Linked DNA regions of Homo sapiens: region 2 is linked to region 1. Evidence: promoter capture Hi-C in human tissues and cell types (Jung and others, 2019). All regions are on one chromosome and are shown on one strand. The core of a region is centred on a gene start or on the middle of the fragment in contact, and the rest is flanking DNA. Distances in the headings are between cores, read along the strand shown.

Region 1 (4,068 bases), core at 579-3,078:
AATTTTTGTAATCCTGCTGATCTTAATTTTGCTGATCTGCAAATTGGGCAGAAAAATACCTATCTTTCAGTTTTGATATGAGATTTACATAAGCAAATGCATGTGGAATGCCAAACACATAGCAGATGCTGAATAAATGCCTTCAAATGGCCATTTCTAACGGCTCTGGGAAATTCTCCATTCTGCAACAATATGCAGTCTTCTCGAGACCTCCGCTACGTTCTCTTTTTTTCTCATCGTTTATTTAGCAAACATTAATAGAGCATGTTTTATTTGCCAGACACTTTGCTAGATGATAGAGATACAAAGATTAGAAGCCAGGCATGGGTGTCTCACGCCTATAACTCCAGCACCTTGGGAGGCTGAGGCAGGAGGATTGCTTAAGGTAAGGAGTTCAAAAAATAAAATAAAATAAAACATAAAAAAAAATTAGCCAGGCATGGTGGCATGCACCTGTACTCTCAGCTACTTGGGAGTCTTAGCTGGGAGATCACTTGAGGCCAGGAGTTTGACGCTACAGTGAATTATGACCGTGACACTGCCCTCCAGCCTGGGTGACAGAAAAAAAAAAAAAAAGATTAGAGAAGGCCTCTGACCTCACAGTCTAGTGGGGAACCAGCTTCTTCGGGGATTTTTCCCTGCCTCACCTCGCCCACCTCAGGCTGTGTAGAAACCCCCAGTCTAACCAGTTGTTTCCCTCCAACTCTGTACATACCACGGTGTGTTGCCTTTTTATTTCAAACATGTGCTGGCCTCTGTTCTAATCACAGCAACCTGTATCCATTAATCCATTTAATCCTCACAACAACCTTATCAGGTAAGTATTGTCATTATTTGCATTTTCCAAATAAGGAAACTGAGGCACAGACAGATTAAGTAACTGGCTTAATAAGGTCTTCTAGTTTATACGTAGAGGCAGCCAGGACTTGAAAACACACCTTCTGGCTCCAGCTAAATTAACATGCTCTGTTTACTTATCTGTCCCCACTGAAATTGGAGGTTGAACCCGTGGCATATTCAAACGAATAAGTATCGCCTGTGCCCACCCCAATATCTGACACTATAGGTCAACGATAACTCATTCGTCAAACAGGAAGGAGGAAGGAAGGAAGGAAGGAAGGAAGGAAGGAAGGCAGGCAGGCAGGCAGGCGGGCAGGCAGAGGTAAAACGATTCCACAATGGTGTGGTTGCTCACATTTACTAAGCATCAACACTGACCTGCCTGTAAGATGCGCTAACAGAGCTCACGAATAAATGAAGGCTGGGTGTGGTAGCTCACGCCTATAATCCCAGCACTTGAGAGGCCAAGGTGGGAGGACGGCTTGAGCCCCAGAGTTCAGGACCAGCCGGGGCAATATACTGAGACCCTGTCTCTACTAAAATTAAAATTAAAAATTAGCCAGGCACAGTGGCGCGCGCATGTAGTCCCAGCTACTTGGGAGGCTGAGGTGGAGGATCGCTTGAGCCCGGGAATTCAAGGCTGCAGTGAGCCCTGACCACGCCACTGCACTCCAGCCTGGGCGACCAAAAAAAAAATTAAAATAAAAAAAAGGAATAAATGAACATCTCTGCGGCTCAGAACTTTCAGTTATCACCTCAGAACTTTCAGTTATCACCGTCGAGAATTCCAGGCGACCGCTGGGTTTTCCCGGTTGCCTCTTTTCTCTCACCCCTGTTCCCTTCCTCTGGAATTCGGCTCCACCTCTTCCTTTTCCTTTGCCAGCCTCTCCGTGGATTCCGCGGTCCGGGTTTCCCGGGCGGCAGCCGCCGGGAGAGGATCGGTGCGTGGGAGCGCTCCGGCAGCGGCGGGCATGCGCAGAGGGGGGCGGTGTACTGCGCATGCGGGAAGATGGCGGGCCGGGCGACTTGAGATCCGCGGGTCTCCCTCCTCTTTTTCCGTCTGCGTCGGGAGCTCCCGGGCACGTGAGGCCGTGCCGCGTTTACTGGCGGGCGGGACGGCCTAGCCGGGCGGCGCCTCGGAGGAAGCCGCGGACCCCTTAGGTGCTGGGCCCTTGGAAATCGGCGCGTGGGGGGCGGTGCTCGAGCTGAGCGCGAGAGGGCGGGAGAGCTCGTGGGGTGCGAGGGGAGCAGGACGCCCGGCCGGGCAGCATGAGTCAGCAGCGGCCGGCGAGGAAGTTACCCAGTCTCCTCCTGGACCCGACGGAGGAGACGGTTCGCCGTCGGTGCCGAGACCCCATCAACGTGGAGGGCCTGCTGGTAAGCTCCGGGACGGGACGGGGACGGGCGGTGGTCTCCCAAATCCGGCCCCCTCCTCCCCGCGCCGCCGCCAACCCCGCTGGCCGTCGTCTGGGTCGTCTGCTCCCCCTGGGCCAGGCGCTGCCCATCACGTGCTGCGAACTGCGCTCTCCCGCCTTCTGCTTTCAGCATCTGCTCACAGACGTGGTATCAGTCTTCTAGGCTTTTACATCGGAACTTCAGAGCACTGTTGGAGAAAATTGCTCAACTTTGCATTAGAGAGTCCATGTTTATCTCCTTCTATGGACTCTAGCTGTATCTCTGCAACCTATCATTTGTTTTTCTGCCTCCTCTCCCATCCTTCTGCTCTACTGCAGCCGTTTAAAACCTTGTCCACGCTTTATATTTCCCACGCCACAGCTCCCATTCATCAAATTATCTCCCCACCTGTTTGACAGAGAAAATGGTTAGGAAATTTGGCTCCCTTTCCTGCAAAGGCTGATTTCTTCTCTTGTTCAGGACCAGATGCTGTATTCCCCGCGGTTATCAGGGCCCTCAACAAATGCATTTTCTTTTTCTTTTCTTTCTTTTTTTTCTTTTTTTTTTTTTTTTTTGAGATTGAGTTTTACTTTTGTTCCCCAGGCTGGAGTGCAATGGCGCAATCTCAGCTCACTGCAACCCCCACCTCCCAGGTTCAAGAGATTCTCCTGCTTCAGCCTCCCATGTAGCTGGGATCACAGGCATGCGCCACCACACCCAGCTAATTTTGTATTTTTAGTAGAGACGGGATTTCGCCGTGTTGGCCAGGCTGGTCTCGAACTCCTGACGACCTCAGGTGATCCACCGAGCCCGACCTCTCCCCGTATTTTCAATTTCTCTGCTGCTTTCTTTCTATAACTAGTAGTAATTAAACATTTTCCCAAGTCATTATGCCTGGTTCCCCTACCAAATAGTTTGTGATTATTGCCTCATTTAATTTCTCATTTCTCACAGCAGTGTTTTATAATACTAAAAGATTATTATTCTTGTTTCACGGTTGCCAAAACAGACTTGGAGATGCATGTAACGCCGGCTTGCCTGTGGCTGGATAATAAGTGTAGAAACTTGGGTTGAAGCTCCAAATGTCTAACTCCAGATGATAAATTCTTGACTACTAAAACCGCATTCTAAATCCATCCCCATCTTAAAAGATCTCTCCCTTGATTCCATATCCCCTCCCATCTACTGTCTCTCTTCCTCTTCACAGCTAAACTTTTTTTTTTTTTTTTTTTTTTTGGTGACGAAGTCTTGCTCTGTCACCCAGGCTGGAGTGCAGTGGCCTGATCTCGGTTCACTGCAAGCTCCGCCTCCCGAGTTCACGCCATTTTCCTGCCTCAGCCTCCTGAGTAGCTGGGACTACAGGCACCCGCCACCACGCACGGCTAATTTTTTTTTGTATTTTTAGTAGAGATGGGGTTTCACCGTGTAAGCCAGGATGGTCTCAATCTCCTGACCTCGTGATCCACCCGCCTCAGCCTCCCAAAGTGCTTTCACAGCTAAACTTCTTGAAAAGGTTATTTACACTCACTGTTTCCACTTGATGGCCTCTTATTACCAGCCAACCCACTGCTGGGGACCCCTATCCTAAGCACACTTGTAAGACCATTCTAACCAAGGTCACCGACAAGCTCGTCAATTCCAGCAGCTGTTGTAGTTTTGACTACAACACTCGTGTTAGAAACCCTCCCTTGAGCTTCCTTGACGTTTGATGCTCCATCTGCTTCTCTGGCTTCTCCTTGTCCTCATCCTCTTCCCATTCCTTCATGTTGATTTGTTTTTCTGTTTTTGTTTTTGTCCCCCCCCCCGGTGCAGGATCTCACTCTGTCACCCTGG
Region 2 (4,068 bases), core at 988-3,487, 610 kb after region 1:
AAGAACTATCAAGCCATCTGCCTGGGCTTGATGGTGACTCCTGGGAAAATAAAGTCGTGCTGATGAAGACAGGAATAACATCAAGTGAGGTTCATACACACAGTAGGGTGTTTTGGCTTTCAGTGTCCATGCCCAGTGTGGGGTAGATGCTCTGGTTCTTACTGGTTGGAGTGGGACTGGCATCGAGGTGGTGGCATAGGGAGCTACAGCCTGGAAGACAGCCAGAGGGGGCAATAAGAGGGTAGGCGAGGCCGGACACAGTGGCTCACGCCTGTAATCCCAGCACTTTGGGAGGCCGAGGCAGGCAGATCACCTGAGGTCAGGAGTTCAAGACCAGCCTGACCAACATGGAAAAAACCCGTCTCTACTAAAAATACAAAATTAGCCAGCGTGATGGCGCATGCCTGTAATCCCAGCTACTCGGGATACTGAGTCCAGAGAATCACTTGAACCCGGGAGGCAGAGGTTGTGGTGAGCCGAGATCATGCCATTGCACTCCAACATGGGCAACAAGAGTGAAAGTCCATCTCAAAAAAAAAAAAAAAAAAAAAGGTAGGCAAGAAGGCATTTCTAAGTTCCACTCTGGTCCCCGTTCTGCAAGGCTTGGTGCAGCCATTGCCTGGCCCTTCAGGACAGGCAGCTGCTCCTGGTGTCTGAAATAATGTCACGGCAATCCATGATTCCTGCCAGGGTGAGGATTTGATAAAAACAGGTGAGGACAGAGCATTCAACCCCAGTCACTCACCCACAGACACCCACAGCCCTGGGATCTGAGGAGACCGGCTCTGCCCAAGACTGCTTTTCCCTGGGGGGTTGGTGGTACAACTCTGAAGAATGCAGTTGCCAGGTGAAGAGACAAAAATCCAGTGAATCTGAGATCTGGAGGTCTTCAACCTAGGGTCCATTTCTCTCCTTCCATTAAACGCAGGGATGGACATGGGCATGGCCTTTGACCCTTCCCAAGAACACATTTCCAGAGGGAGTAACCAAAACCCCATTCTCATGGGGTTCTGAGCTCATAGGCCAATGTAACCAGATTCCTGAGGACAACTACCATGAAACAAAGCCAGCTAGGTAAGCATCATTTCGTGTCTGAAGCAGAAATATTGGAAGAGGAGGACAAAAATTTTAAAGAGCATAGTAGTATATATACATAAGATAAAGAAAGAAATGGCAAAAATTATTTGCAAGAATGAGAAAATATTTTCTTAAAAAAAGAGAAAGGGCAAAGGATTTGAATAGACATTTCTCCAAGGAAAATACACAGGTAGCCAATAAGCACATGAAAAAATGCTCAAGATCCTTAGTCATTAGGGATACACACATCAAACCCACAATGAAATACAATTTCACACTCACTAGAATGGCTATTATAGAAAACAACCACAACAACAACAACAGAACATAGCAAGTGTTGGTGAGGATGTTGAGACATTAGAACCCTTGTGCATAACTGGTGGAAATATAAAATGGTATAGCCATGTGAAAAATAGTATGACAGTTCCTCAAAAACTTGAACATAAAATTACCATTTCACCCAGCAATTCCACTTCTGGGTATATATTCTCAAAAGAACTGAAGGGACTTGAACAGATATTTGTACACCCATGTGATAGCAGCATTATTCACAATAAGGAATATTGTTTTCACCAAAGGGTGGAAACAACCTATGTGTCCATCAGTGAATGAATGGATAAGCAAGTTGTGCTATATACACACAATGAAAAATCACTCAGCCTATTGCCATGATCTGTTTCTATTCCCGACACTTATGACACCAAATGAATGGGTTTTTTTCCACATCAACCACCAATTCTCTAACTCTCCAGAAACCAACTGGATATACAATGACTCAATTCAATTCTGACACTATTTTCTGGAGTTAGCATCAGACAGGCTATGGGCTCAGTCCCACAAGACTGCTCCCACTTCAGACACCAATCCCAAGGGTGGGCCTCCTGTACTTATGACCAACAAGCTGTAAATCAGTGGTCCTCACAATGCCCTCCTCTGGTTCAATAATCTGCTAGAAGAGGTCACAGAACTCAGGAAGGCACATACCTACTATTACCACCTTCTCATAAAGGATATGACTCAAAAGCAGCTAAATGGAAGAGATGCACAGAGCATGGTATCCGGGAAGGGGGAGAAGCTTCCACGCCTTCTCTGAGTGGATTCCCTTCCCAGTACCTCAATGTGTTCACCAACTCAGAATCTCGCTGAACCCCATTGTTTAGGATTTTCATGGAGGTTCCGTTATGAAGGTATGACTGATTAAATCGTTGGTTCTAGGTGACTGATTAATTTCCAGTCCCTCTCTCCTCTCTGGAGATTGGGGATTGAAGCTGAAAGTTCCAACCCTCTAGTAATACCTTGGTCTTTCTGGAGGCCAGCCCTCCTCCTAAAGGTATCTAGGGGCGCCCATCCACCAATCATCTCATTAGCCTACAGAAAGACACTCATCTGGTGATACAAGGGCCTTAGATGCTCTTACGTCAGGAACCAAAGACTAAGACCAAATATCCTAACAAAAGATCTTTCTATCACCCCATCAGTCAGGAAATTGCAAGGGTTTTAGGAGCTCGCTGCCAGGACATAAACCAAGTATGTATGTATATAATATCACAATATCACACAGTCTTAAAAAGAAAGAAATCCTGATGCATGCGCCCACATGAATGAACCTTGAAAACATGCTAAGTGAAGAGAGCCAGTCACAAAAGAATAAGTACTGAATGATTCCACTTGTATGAGGTACCTAAGGCAGTCAGATTCAAAAGGACAGATGATACAACGGTGATTGCCAGGGGCTGGAGGGAAGGAGGAGTGGTGAGTTATTGTTTAATGGACATAGAGTTTCAGTTTGGGATAATGAAAGAGTTCTGGAGAGGAAGGTGGTGATAGTTGCACGATGTGAATATCCTTACTGCTATAAGGGAGGGAAAAATGCTTTCCTCTACTGTCTTACATTCTATAGTGAGGGTCTGTGAATTAAGCTGAAAAAAGACAGATTAACAGGGGGAAAGGCATATAGATTTTACTTGATGTAATTTTCATTTTCATGTGCACATGGAGGCCTTCACAGAAAAGAAATGAGGATCCAAAGAGACAGGTAGACCTGAGGGCTTATATGCCGCTGTAACTGTGCACCCAAAAGTATCCGAGACAGATCTCAATCAATTTAGAAAGTTTATTTTGCCAAGGTTAAGGCTGTGCCCTGACACAGTCTCAGGAGGTCCTCAAGACATGTGCCCAAGATGGTGATGGTAGGGGCACAGCTTGCTTTTTTTTTTTGGAGACTGAGCCTCACTCTATCGCCCAGGCTGGAGTGCAGTAGCACGATCTTGGCTTACTGCAACCTCCGCCTCCCAGGTTCAAGCAATTCTCATGCCTCAGCCTCTTGAGTAGCTGGGACTACAGGTGTGCACCACCACACCCAGCTAATTTATTTGTATTTTTAGTAGAGATGGGGTTTCGCCATGTTGGCCAGGCTGGTCTTGAACTCCTGACCTCAAGTGATCCACCTGCCTCAGCCTCCCAAAGTGCTGGGGTTACAGGCGTGAGCCACCACGCCCAGCCCAGCTTGCTTTAACACCTTTTAGGGAGACATGACACATCAGTCAATACGTGTAAGATATTCATTGGTTTGGCCCGGAAAGGCAGGACAACTAGAAGCAAGGGGCTTCCAGGTCATAAGCAGACAACAGACAAAGGTCGCATTGTTTTTTGTTGTCACCTTGTTTTGCTTTTGAGACAGGGTCTGGCTGTGTCACCCAGGCTGGAGTGCAGTGGTGTGATTGTGGCTCACTGCAGCGTTGACCTCCCAGGCTAAAGCGATCCTACCTCTTCAACCTCCTGAGTAGCTGGGATTACAGGCACCTGCCACCATGCCAGGCTAATTTTTTGTATTTTTAGTAGAGACAGGGTTTTGCCATGTCGCTCAAGGTGGTCTCAAACTTCTGGACTCAAGTGATCCACCTACCTCAGCCTCCCAAAGTGCTGGGATTACAGGCCTGAGCCACTGCGCTCGGCCAGTTACATTATTTTGAGTCCTTGATTAGCCTTTCA

What was found. The method cuts DNA at HindIII sites, captures the fragments that hold promoters and counts their contacts. A contact is called where the count stands out against the background at its distance.
Region 2: a fragment that was not itself captured here is called in contact with the fragment with the promoter of E2F6 in region 1 in 2 of the 25 tissues and cell types used here (IMR-90 fibroblasts and aorta).

What each region holds. Positions count from the first base shown.
Region 1 is chr2:11,463,921-11,467,988 of GRCh38, reverse strand. E2F6 (E2F transcription factor 6) reads left to right here and starts at 1,828. Exons shown (of 7, transcript NM_198256.4): 1 at 1,828-2,217. The coding sequence starts at 2,110. RefSeq lists enhancers at 1,013-1,092, 1,520-2,076, 2,077-2,634. The HindIII fragment of the contact is 18,503 bases long and covers 1-4,068 here.
Region 2 is chr2:10,850,482-10,854,549 of GRCh38, reverse strand. LOC124905973 (a long non-coding RNA gene) reads left to right here and starts at 2,120. Exons shown (of 3, transcript XR_007086215.1): 1 at 2,120-2,264. The HindIII fragment of the contact is 7,119 bases long and covers 1-4,068 here.